Linked DNA regions of Homo sapiens: region 1 is linked to region 2. Evidence: promoter capture Hi-C in 16 types of primary human blood cells and fetal thymus (Javierre and others, 2016). All regions are on one chromosome and are shown on one strand. Each heading gives the region's core, a stretch centred on a gene start or on the middle of the fragment in contact. The rest is flanking DNA. Distances are from core to core; before and after follow the strand shown.

Region 1 (4,133 bases), core at 900-3,399, 690 kb after region 2:
AAATGGAGGCAGGGCGAGATCACAGGACCACCTGACTGGGGTGAAATTAAAATTGCTAATGAAGTTTTGGGCACCATTGTCATTGATAACATCTTATCAGGAGACAGGGTTTTGAGAGCAACCTGTCTGACCAAAATTTATTAGGCGGGAATTTCTTCTTCCTAATAAGCCTGGGAGCGATATGGGAGACTGAGGTCTATTTCAGCCCTACAGTCTACAGACCATAAAAGATGGCCACGCCCGGGGGACCGTCTGTAGACCTGCCCCCAGGCGTGTATTCTCTTTCCCAGGGATGTTCCTTGCTGAGAAAAAGAATTCAGCGATATTTCTCCCATTTGCTTTTGAAAGAAAAGAAATATGGCTCTGTTCCGCCCGGCTCACCAACGGACAGAGTTTAAGGTTATCTGTCTTATTCCCTGAACAATTGCTGTTATCCTGTTCTTTTTTTCAAGGTGCCCAGATTTCATATTGTTCAAACACACATGCTCTACAATTTTGTGCAGTTAACGCAATTATCACGTGGTCCTGAGGCTACATACATCCTCCTCGGTTTACAAGATGACAGGATTAAGAGATTAAAGTGAAGACAGGCCTAGGAAATCACAAGGGTATTGATTGGGGAAGTGATAAGTGTCCATGAAATCTTTACAATTCATGTTCAGAGATTGCAGTAAAGACAGGCATAAGAAGTTATAAAAGTATTAATTTGGGGAACTAATAAATGTCCATGAAATCTTCACAATCCACGTTCTTCTGCCATGGCTTCAGCCGGTCCCTCTGTTTGGGGTCCCTGACTTCTCGCAACACCTGGCCGTATTGTTTTATTTTAAAGCATACTAATGCTACTTGTTTGTGATAGCTAAAAATTAGAAACACCTAAATGTCCATTAGTAGGGATTGGTTAGATAAATCATGATAGCTGCATACAGTGGACTGCTCTGTGGCTGTAAAAGATGACTGAATATGCTCTTTGTGCACAATGTTCCGTGTTGGGAACAATCTCTAGCATATGTGATGCGAGAAAAATGTAGTACAATTATAATGGTAATGTGCAGAGTAGTATGCTAGTGTTTGTAAAAACAAAGGTGTGCAGAAGTATTTGCAGTTGTTTGCAATCGGAAGAACTCTCTAGAAGCATATACAAGAAACTCGTAATACTGATTGCTTCCAACAAAGGGAACCTCAGGGTTGCAGGACAAAGGGACAAGAACTTTCAGTGTATACTTTTTGCACTTGCTGAATTTTGAACCATGTTATCTATTCAGAAGTTTTTTTCTGTAATTAAATCTCCAAAATAAAGTATACTATACTGTATTCTAAAACTAAGCATACCAAATATATTTATAAATCACTGTATTATGTGTATTTCATTTATGTTTAGAAATGAATGATTATTCCAGTAAGTTATTTCAAGCTTATGAATAGAGGGAATATTGACAATGTGAAACTATAATCACAAAAAGAGGATTTATACTGTTGATTTATTCTTTGATAGTTGTAAAAGGAGATAAATGTTAATCAGGATAAGTCCTGATTTACATCTCTTAATTTGATACTGACAAGAACAAATTTTTGCGAAGAGAATAAAATACTCTTCTGTCTTAAGTTTTTTAATGCAGTTCTAGGTGAGTGAATGGGTAAATCAGTTCGGAGATAATTTGAGGGCTACTCCCATAGTTTCCCTCTTTTTTTTGCAATTTGTAATTGCTTTATCACCCAAGTAGGACAAGTTCTGGTATTTGTGCTTGTTAAACATACTATAGCAGGGTTATAAACATACATGTTTGTAAAACTCTTTAATGCAGAGCTGTCTTTGACAGATTACACCCACCCTATGAAAAATTGTAAAACAGTTTCTCCTGCAGCATGAAGCACTGCATTCTGGCTGGCAGTCTTAGTTGCTAGGTTGTCAGTATACTCCCCATCCTAGAAACTGAAAAGTTTTGAGGATGCTCTTGGGATATACTTAGGTATTTTTAAGCCGGAAAAACACGTCCAAAACCAAGATTTCTGGTTCATTGTTTTAAACGAAAAAACTCAAACGTTGTCGTTACTAGTAGTAGTATAAAACGTCAAATTTCTGGTTTAGGTTTGTTTTGCATCATGGCTGAGGTTACGAATGGCTAGATTCTCCCAAATGTCAAATTTCTACACTGCTTTTCCCATATTGGTGTGAACTCATGAGAATGCCAGGCATGATCTCCCAAAGGACAATCAGAGTGTCACAAGGGTTAAGTACTATCTATACCTGAGGTTGATTTGGAGTCCATTTCAGGTGACATTAAATATGTCAAGTTTCCATGCTTTTTGCCAACCCATTTCTATTCAACATTTCAACCTAATCATTTATATTAAAAATCTGTTACGGAGTAGGTACTGTGCTAGGGACTGTGCTATGATCTATGAGTGTAAGTTATGAATATGAAGTGGATATGGTAAGAGATGTAGCTGGAGACGCTGAAGATGGAGTGAGATTTAAAAAGGTTTTATATGCAGGGCTTATATTTCAGAAAGGGAGCCAGGGAAAGGATTTTAATCAGAAAAATGGTATGATCTATACAAAATGAGGAGTTAACAAATATGGGGGGTTATGGTGGAGAATTCAGGAATTTCTGATGAAAGTATCCCAACAAGTTTATTGTTTTTTTTTGTTGTTTTGATGTTACTCTGCTGCTATAATCTTCTGAACAAACCACCATTTAGAATAGGATACCACAATCTGAAAGTGTTCTCTCCTGCCACTTTTTCCCACCAATCTGGTAAAGTTCTGTTTAGCTGCAATATATTTTGGTATAAATCTTACTAGACATGTTTTCTTAAGTCCAATTATTTTGCTTCTCCAAAAAAGGAAGGAATATGCCAGTGAATTATTAGACGCCATATTTAAAGCTTCCCCCTTTTTTTCTTCAAATATAATCAGGCAGCAGGAAATTGTTGTTCTTAATATTTATAATTGTTTCACCTGTATTCTTTTTTTTATTTAATCTCCAAGGAGCTGTAAGTTGGTATGTATCGCCTGTATTCTTAAATAGCATTTTCACAATGTTATATCCAAGTTTCAAGATTATGAAGCTTTCAGATTTCATGGTTAAATTTTTTAATAGCTCTATATTCTGTCTCCAGGAGAAAATATAGTGAAAGGAGATAAAGAATCTATTAAGAATCTCCTGGAAATATTTGATGGTTTGTTGGAGTATCTTACAGAACGCATCAGTGAAACATCTCATGAGAAAAGTAAGTTTAAGAATGGAAATTTGGTTTGGTTTACCTTTTATGATGTGTCCCTTTTGCCTTTTATCTTTTTGTGTATTTTTCTTCATAGGAAGCAGATTCACTAATACAGTATACCTGATAACCGTAGTTGTAAATTTCAAATTCTTATTGTTCCAGCTGGTTGGAAACTGTCTTAGACTGTCATCATGTTCTTTATCAACTTGGATGTTGCTCATAAATTACTTCAAAACTAATTTATACTAGAAAGATAAATTTCTGGCTAAATTATTTATTGTCCTATGATTGCATAAAATTTCTTTCTCCAAAATTTCGTGTGTCAGAACTGCTATTTATGGTAAATATTTGGATGTTACTGAGGCATCAACAGGAAGAATTGGTGCATTTGTGTCTTTAGCCTGCACTTACATTTGTGACAGCCTAAATATTTCAGATATTTGTCATTGCAAAAAGTGAAAGAACTTAACTGTCTTAATAATTTGAGATTAAGTAAATAATGCTGTTGGTCACGAATGGAATAATATATTACCTGTTCTTATGTTGAAAAGTTATCAAAAATAAACTTTCAGCAGCAACCACAATTTACATAAATTCGAATACAAATTAAGACAAAAAATTGGGGTAGGCTCATCCTCCATTCTCACTTTGTTTATAGTGAGACCTGTGATAGTCACATTTGAAATTAATCTTAAAGTCTTTAGTTAGAGATAGTTTCCTACCTTTAATCATTGTTACTAAACTGTTTAAAAACTGGGAGGGAAAATTGAAAAGTCTGCCACACTGGACATTTCTTTGTTTCAAAAATTGAGTGTTTTATAGGCGTCTGGGTACTCTGGGAGGATTCCAAGCTGCTTGTCATGTTGATACTCTCAAACCTGTACTTGAGTCAGGGAGACAGCCAT
Region 2 (4,308 bases), core at 1,314-3,813:
AGGAAGTCAGTGACTGAGGTACGGTGATAGAGAGTGAGGTCACCCTCAGCATAGCCTTCAGCCTTAGGAAGGAAAAGAGAGAAGCTTGGTCAGGCCCTTCTAAGGTACCTGTAGGACCCACCAGGCCCAACCTCCCTAGAGTTCCAGGACCCAAGAGTGACCCCATTCCCCAAAACACACCTTTGGCTTCTTCTTAGTAACCAATTCAGTAACGGTCTTAGCCTGAACTTCAACCTCCTTAAAGGCAAATTTGGGGTCAAAGAATTTACTGTCAACCTTGTCAGGGGCCAGGAATCCTAAAAATGACAGGATATATTAAAAAGTGTGCTTTGGGAGTTGGGAGCCTGGATCAAGAGAAAGGAAATGATGCCCACCTTGGCAGACTACAAAGATCTCTGCAGATTCATGGCGAGAGGCTTGGGGCTTGGTGGCCTGGACACGGCGGAACAGCTGCTGAAAGATCCATAGCAGAGGCTGATAGTCACGAGAACGGAAAACCTTTGTGATGAAGCTGCCACCACGGGCCAAAAAGTCACAAGCCAAACGTAGAGCCATCAGTGTCAAATGGGCTGTAGGATAGAGACAATTAGTTGACGCACTCTGCAGCCCAGGAGGGCATGCGCCCACCTCCACCATCACCTGATCTCCAAGCACCACACTCCCTGTACCTTGTGAGTAAGCATCATGGACCCAGCTAGCCCCAACGTTGGGGGCCCCATCATTGAGCACAACATCAACCTTCCAGGTCTTCAGCTCCTTCCTCAGGGCCTAAAGAGAAGAAAAGGAACTATGGAAACAGAAACACTGGAATGGCCCTGGTTCAGCCATTTGTCCATCTAGTCATTTGCTGAGTGCCCATCATGGGCCAAATGCAGTACCAGGCACAGGAGATACAATAGTAAACAAAAACAGTATGTCTCTACCTTCATGGAGATTACAGTCTGACACTGAATTCACAGGAGAAGACTTCACTAAAGATCTCTGCCCTTCTCCCAATTCCAAACACCTTTATCCCTGACTCTAAATAAAGCCTGGAGTGGACACTACGAATGCCATAGGTCTTGTCGTACAGATGTCAGGCAAGAACGTGCTCAAAGCACGGTAAAAAGGAAAAACTTGCCTTTAGAGGATTTCAGGGATGTAGATGTTTCCGTATAAAGGGGGAAGGAAGAGAGAGACTCCTATTACCTGCCTACAACGTTCTGTTGTGATGTCCTGCTGGAGAGTCACCACATTGGGGAGAGGCTTGATTGGAACCAGGTCCACTCCTGGAAGAAATCAGGTCAGAGTATTCTAAAAGGTTGCTTCAAGCAGGGAGGAGAGAAATACAGGACAAAATACCTTATACACCCACCCCTTAAAACACCAAGGAGAGCTGTCCGTTACTCACCCACAATAAGGCTGGATACAGGCATAAACTTGGCAGCTACCTGCAGCCTATAAAAGGAACAGAAATTTAAAAACCTAGAGCCATCCTTTTCCCCCTCTTGGCAACTGATCTCTCATCCCTGGTGTTACGTGTACTGGCCAAAGCATATCATAGGCACGTATTCCAAGCCCTTTCTCTGCAATCAAGAAAGGAAACGGCCCCCAAGAGGACCGGGATTCGGGTTCCCCTCCCGCAGTGAAACTGGAAGCCATCCCAGCTCAGAACCCAGAAAGCGGCCACCAGGAGCAACCTGTGGCGAGTGTTACGAACCATCCCCCTGGCGCAGCACACAGGTCCAGCAAGGCTCGGGCTTTCTGCAGGAACTGAAAGCGGCGATTGAGCTGGATCAGCTTGAAAGCAGATCGGGAACGGTAACCTGGACAAAACAACCAAGTGCGCAAACTGCTTCACTAGTAGGATTTCTCCGGCCTCGCAACCGACCACCCCTTCTGCAGGAGAGGTACATAATGGTCGCAAAGAGCAGGCGAACCGGGCAGAGATCGCTCGCTCGCTCGCAGACTGAGCGAATCCGGACTCACCCGTCTCCTTCGCCAAGTGATAAAACTTGTCTCGTCGGCTCTTGCCAACTTTGCCCTTCTTGCCCATGGTGGAAAGGGGGAGTATCCCTCAATCTGGGGAGAAAGTAGAAGTTGGGAACGTCTCTTTCCGGAGCACCAGATTCCACTTCCAGTTTCCCACTTCCAGTTTCCCACTTCCCGCAGCAATTCCACCCCGCGCCCCTCTCCGCACACTACCTAGACCCAGAGCCGCTTTCTCCACACTTGGAACCGCACAAGTATGCAGCTAACTACTTCCGCTTCCGCTTGCGTCCCCTGCGTCCCTGGCTCGAGGTTTTCCGCCATTTTGAGTGTGGCCCTAGATTGTTCTCAATACTCTGTCCTTGGGTTTTGTAAGTTGAAAGTTGAGACTAGGAAGGCATATCACAAGAACTATAAACAGAGTTTCAATGAGGCAACACTGAGGAGGAGTTCTACTCCTTCCTCATCCCCTTCCAAAGCCCCTGAACTCGAGTAGCCGCCCCTCCCATCATGGTTCCCTTAGTGTGGTCTCGCCGCACACCCCGCCCATTGACCCGGAATTCTTCTCTGCCTGGTCTTCAGGTCCCAATCCTCCGCTTCCGCGCTTGCGCGCCAAGACGGCTCGGATGCCGGCGGTCTCTGCTGAAGAGAGAAGATGGCGCTTGACGGACCAGAGCAGGTATGGCGGGTGCAGTGGCGGCCCGGCAGGTTACGGGGCTGGGTGCGGAGCGAGCGTGATCTGAGTGGAGAGCGGGCCGGGGCAGGAGCGTCGGGTGGGTCGGAGGTGCCTGGACCAGTCCATGCTGGACGCTGCCTGCGACCGGATCTGCTGTGTCAGCGCCGCCCTCGGTGAGTCAGGGCAAGGCTGGGAGAGGAAGACGCGGTAGAAGCGGAGTGAGTGAGGGAAGCGATGGGCGCGGGAATGGCCGGCCCACGGGTCGCAGGAGACGGGACGCCAGTCCTTTGGCTCCGTTCCGCTGGCTCCTTCGTCAGTACTGACACCTCGGGCTTGTAGAGCACTTCACGCAGTGCAAAGCGCCCCCCGTCTATATCATATCGCCTCTCGGTCCTCCTAAAAGTCGTATGAGGTAGGCGGCGTTCCCATTCTTTTATTTTAGTCCTGGGAAAATGGAGGGTTCCAAGGGAGGGAGGGATTAGAACCCAGATCCTGAGCCTCCGAAGTCCAAACTTTTTCTACTACGCAAAGCTACCTGGTGTCAAGCCTTATTCAAAGTGCCCTGCAAGTGGCTTTACCCCCTCGGATGTTTAACCTGTCGTTTAAGACTCACTCTGTGTCTTCAGATGGAGCTGGAGGAGGGGAAGGCAGGCAGCGGACTCCGCCAATATTATCTGTCCAAGATTGAAGAACTCCAGGTGAGGACGGACTCCAGAGGGAGCTAGGAAGGGTGATGATGGGGGATGGAAACGGACTTCCACAAATCCATCTAATTCCTTTGGGAGTGCAGTGGAAGAAGCTGCTGCTTCTCCTTTCTTGTTTGTTTCTTAGCTAGTAGGGTGTATGTATCAGAAGTAAGCAATCTCTTGTTCTCCTCCAGTCCCATCTCTTTGAGGGTCTTAGTGTTCACAGTTTGTTACACATCTTCGAGTCAAATCTTAATAGTAAAGGTACCTCTAGCCAAAGGTCAACCCTTTTGGAAGAAGCCCGAATGAAAAGGATTCTTATAAAAGGGAAACATAAGCTCAGGAGTTGAAATTTATCACCAAGAGGTTGGGTGAGGGTGAAGTGAGAATGTGAGGAAGGGCATCATTGAGGGATCTGGACAATGCTAATTCCATAGAGACTGAATGAAAGAAATTGGGCAACCCAGAGCCCTAGCCTAAAGCGCTAAACCATAGAAAAAGGACCGTTTATGTTGTTAATCAAATGTTTGTGTTACCAGTAAGGCTTCCAGCAGTAAGGTATGGCTTCCAGTAGTAAGCCTTACAGACAACATAAACAGTAGTCTGTTAGTGTTACGTTATACTGTTACGGTAGGCTGTTAGTAGTTTAACTTTGGACAGGTCCATGGATTTTCAATTTCACCCTAACCCCCTGCGTTGTTCAAGTGTCAACTGTAATATAAATTGGATGGGGGAAAGCCACAAAAGACAATTCTGAATTCCAAGTGCATTTGCAGGTATTATGTTTAGTTTACCATTTTTGAATGCTTTTTCATGTGTTTTTATTCGTTCACCTTAGTAGTCTTGAAGCAGGGTAGCTGATGCTATACCCATGTGCCGTTTGGTAACAGATCTAGATTTTTAAAAATAGATTGTCTTACCTTTACTTTGCTTTTGATTGACAGCGGCTGGGCTAGAACTCAGGTTTCTCACCTAACA

What was found. The method cuts DNA at HindIII sites, captures the fragments that hold promoters and counts their contacts. A CHiCAGO score of 5 or more calls a contact.
Region 1: a fragment that was not itself captured here is called in contact with the fragment with the promoter of PSMC5 in region 2 in 3 of 17 cell types (monocytes, total CD8 T cells and naive CD4 T cells); the score reaches 6.7 in monocytes.

What each region holds. Positions count from the first base shown.
Region 1 is chr17:64,511,125-64,515,257 of GRCh38, forward strand. It overlaps CEP95 (centrosomal protein 95), which reads left to right. Exons shown (of 20, transcript NM_138363.3): 4 at 3,124-3,234. Among named protein-coding and RNA genes, the nearest start is that of CEP95, 6.2 kb to the left of the region's middle. The HindIII fragment of the contact is 1,475 bases long and covers 1,413-2,887 here.
Region 2 is chr17:63,824,868-63,829,175 of GRCh38, forward strand. PSMC5 (proteasome 26S subunit, ATPase 5) reads left to right here and starts at 2,564. Exons shown (of 12, transcript NM_002805.6): 1 at 2,564-2,647; 2 at 3,271-3,342. The coding sequence starts at 2,624. FTSJ3 (FtsJ RNA 2'-O-methyltransferase 3) reads right to left here and starts at 2,796. Exons shown (of 21, transcript NM_017647.4): 1 at 2,185-2,796; 2 at 1,969-2,061; 3 at 1,700-1,805; 4 at 1,391-1,437; 5 at 1,189-1,268; 6 at 669-768; 7 at 375-569; 8 at 181-296; 9 at 1-62. The coding sequence starts at 2,035. RefSeq lists enhancers at 1,909-3,108, 2,245-2,524, 2,905-2,954. The HindIII fragment of the contact is 8,506 bases long and covers 83-4,308 here.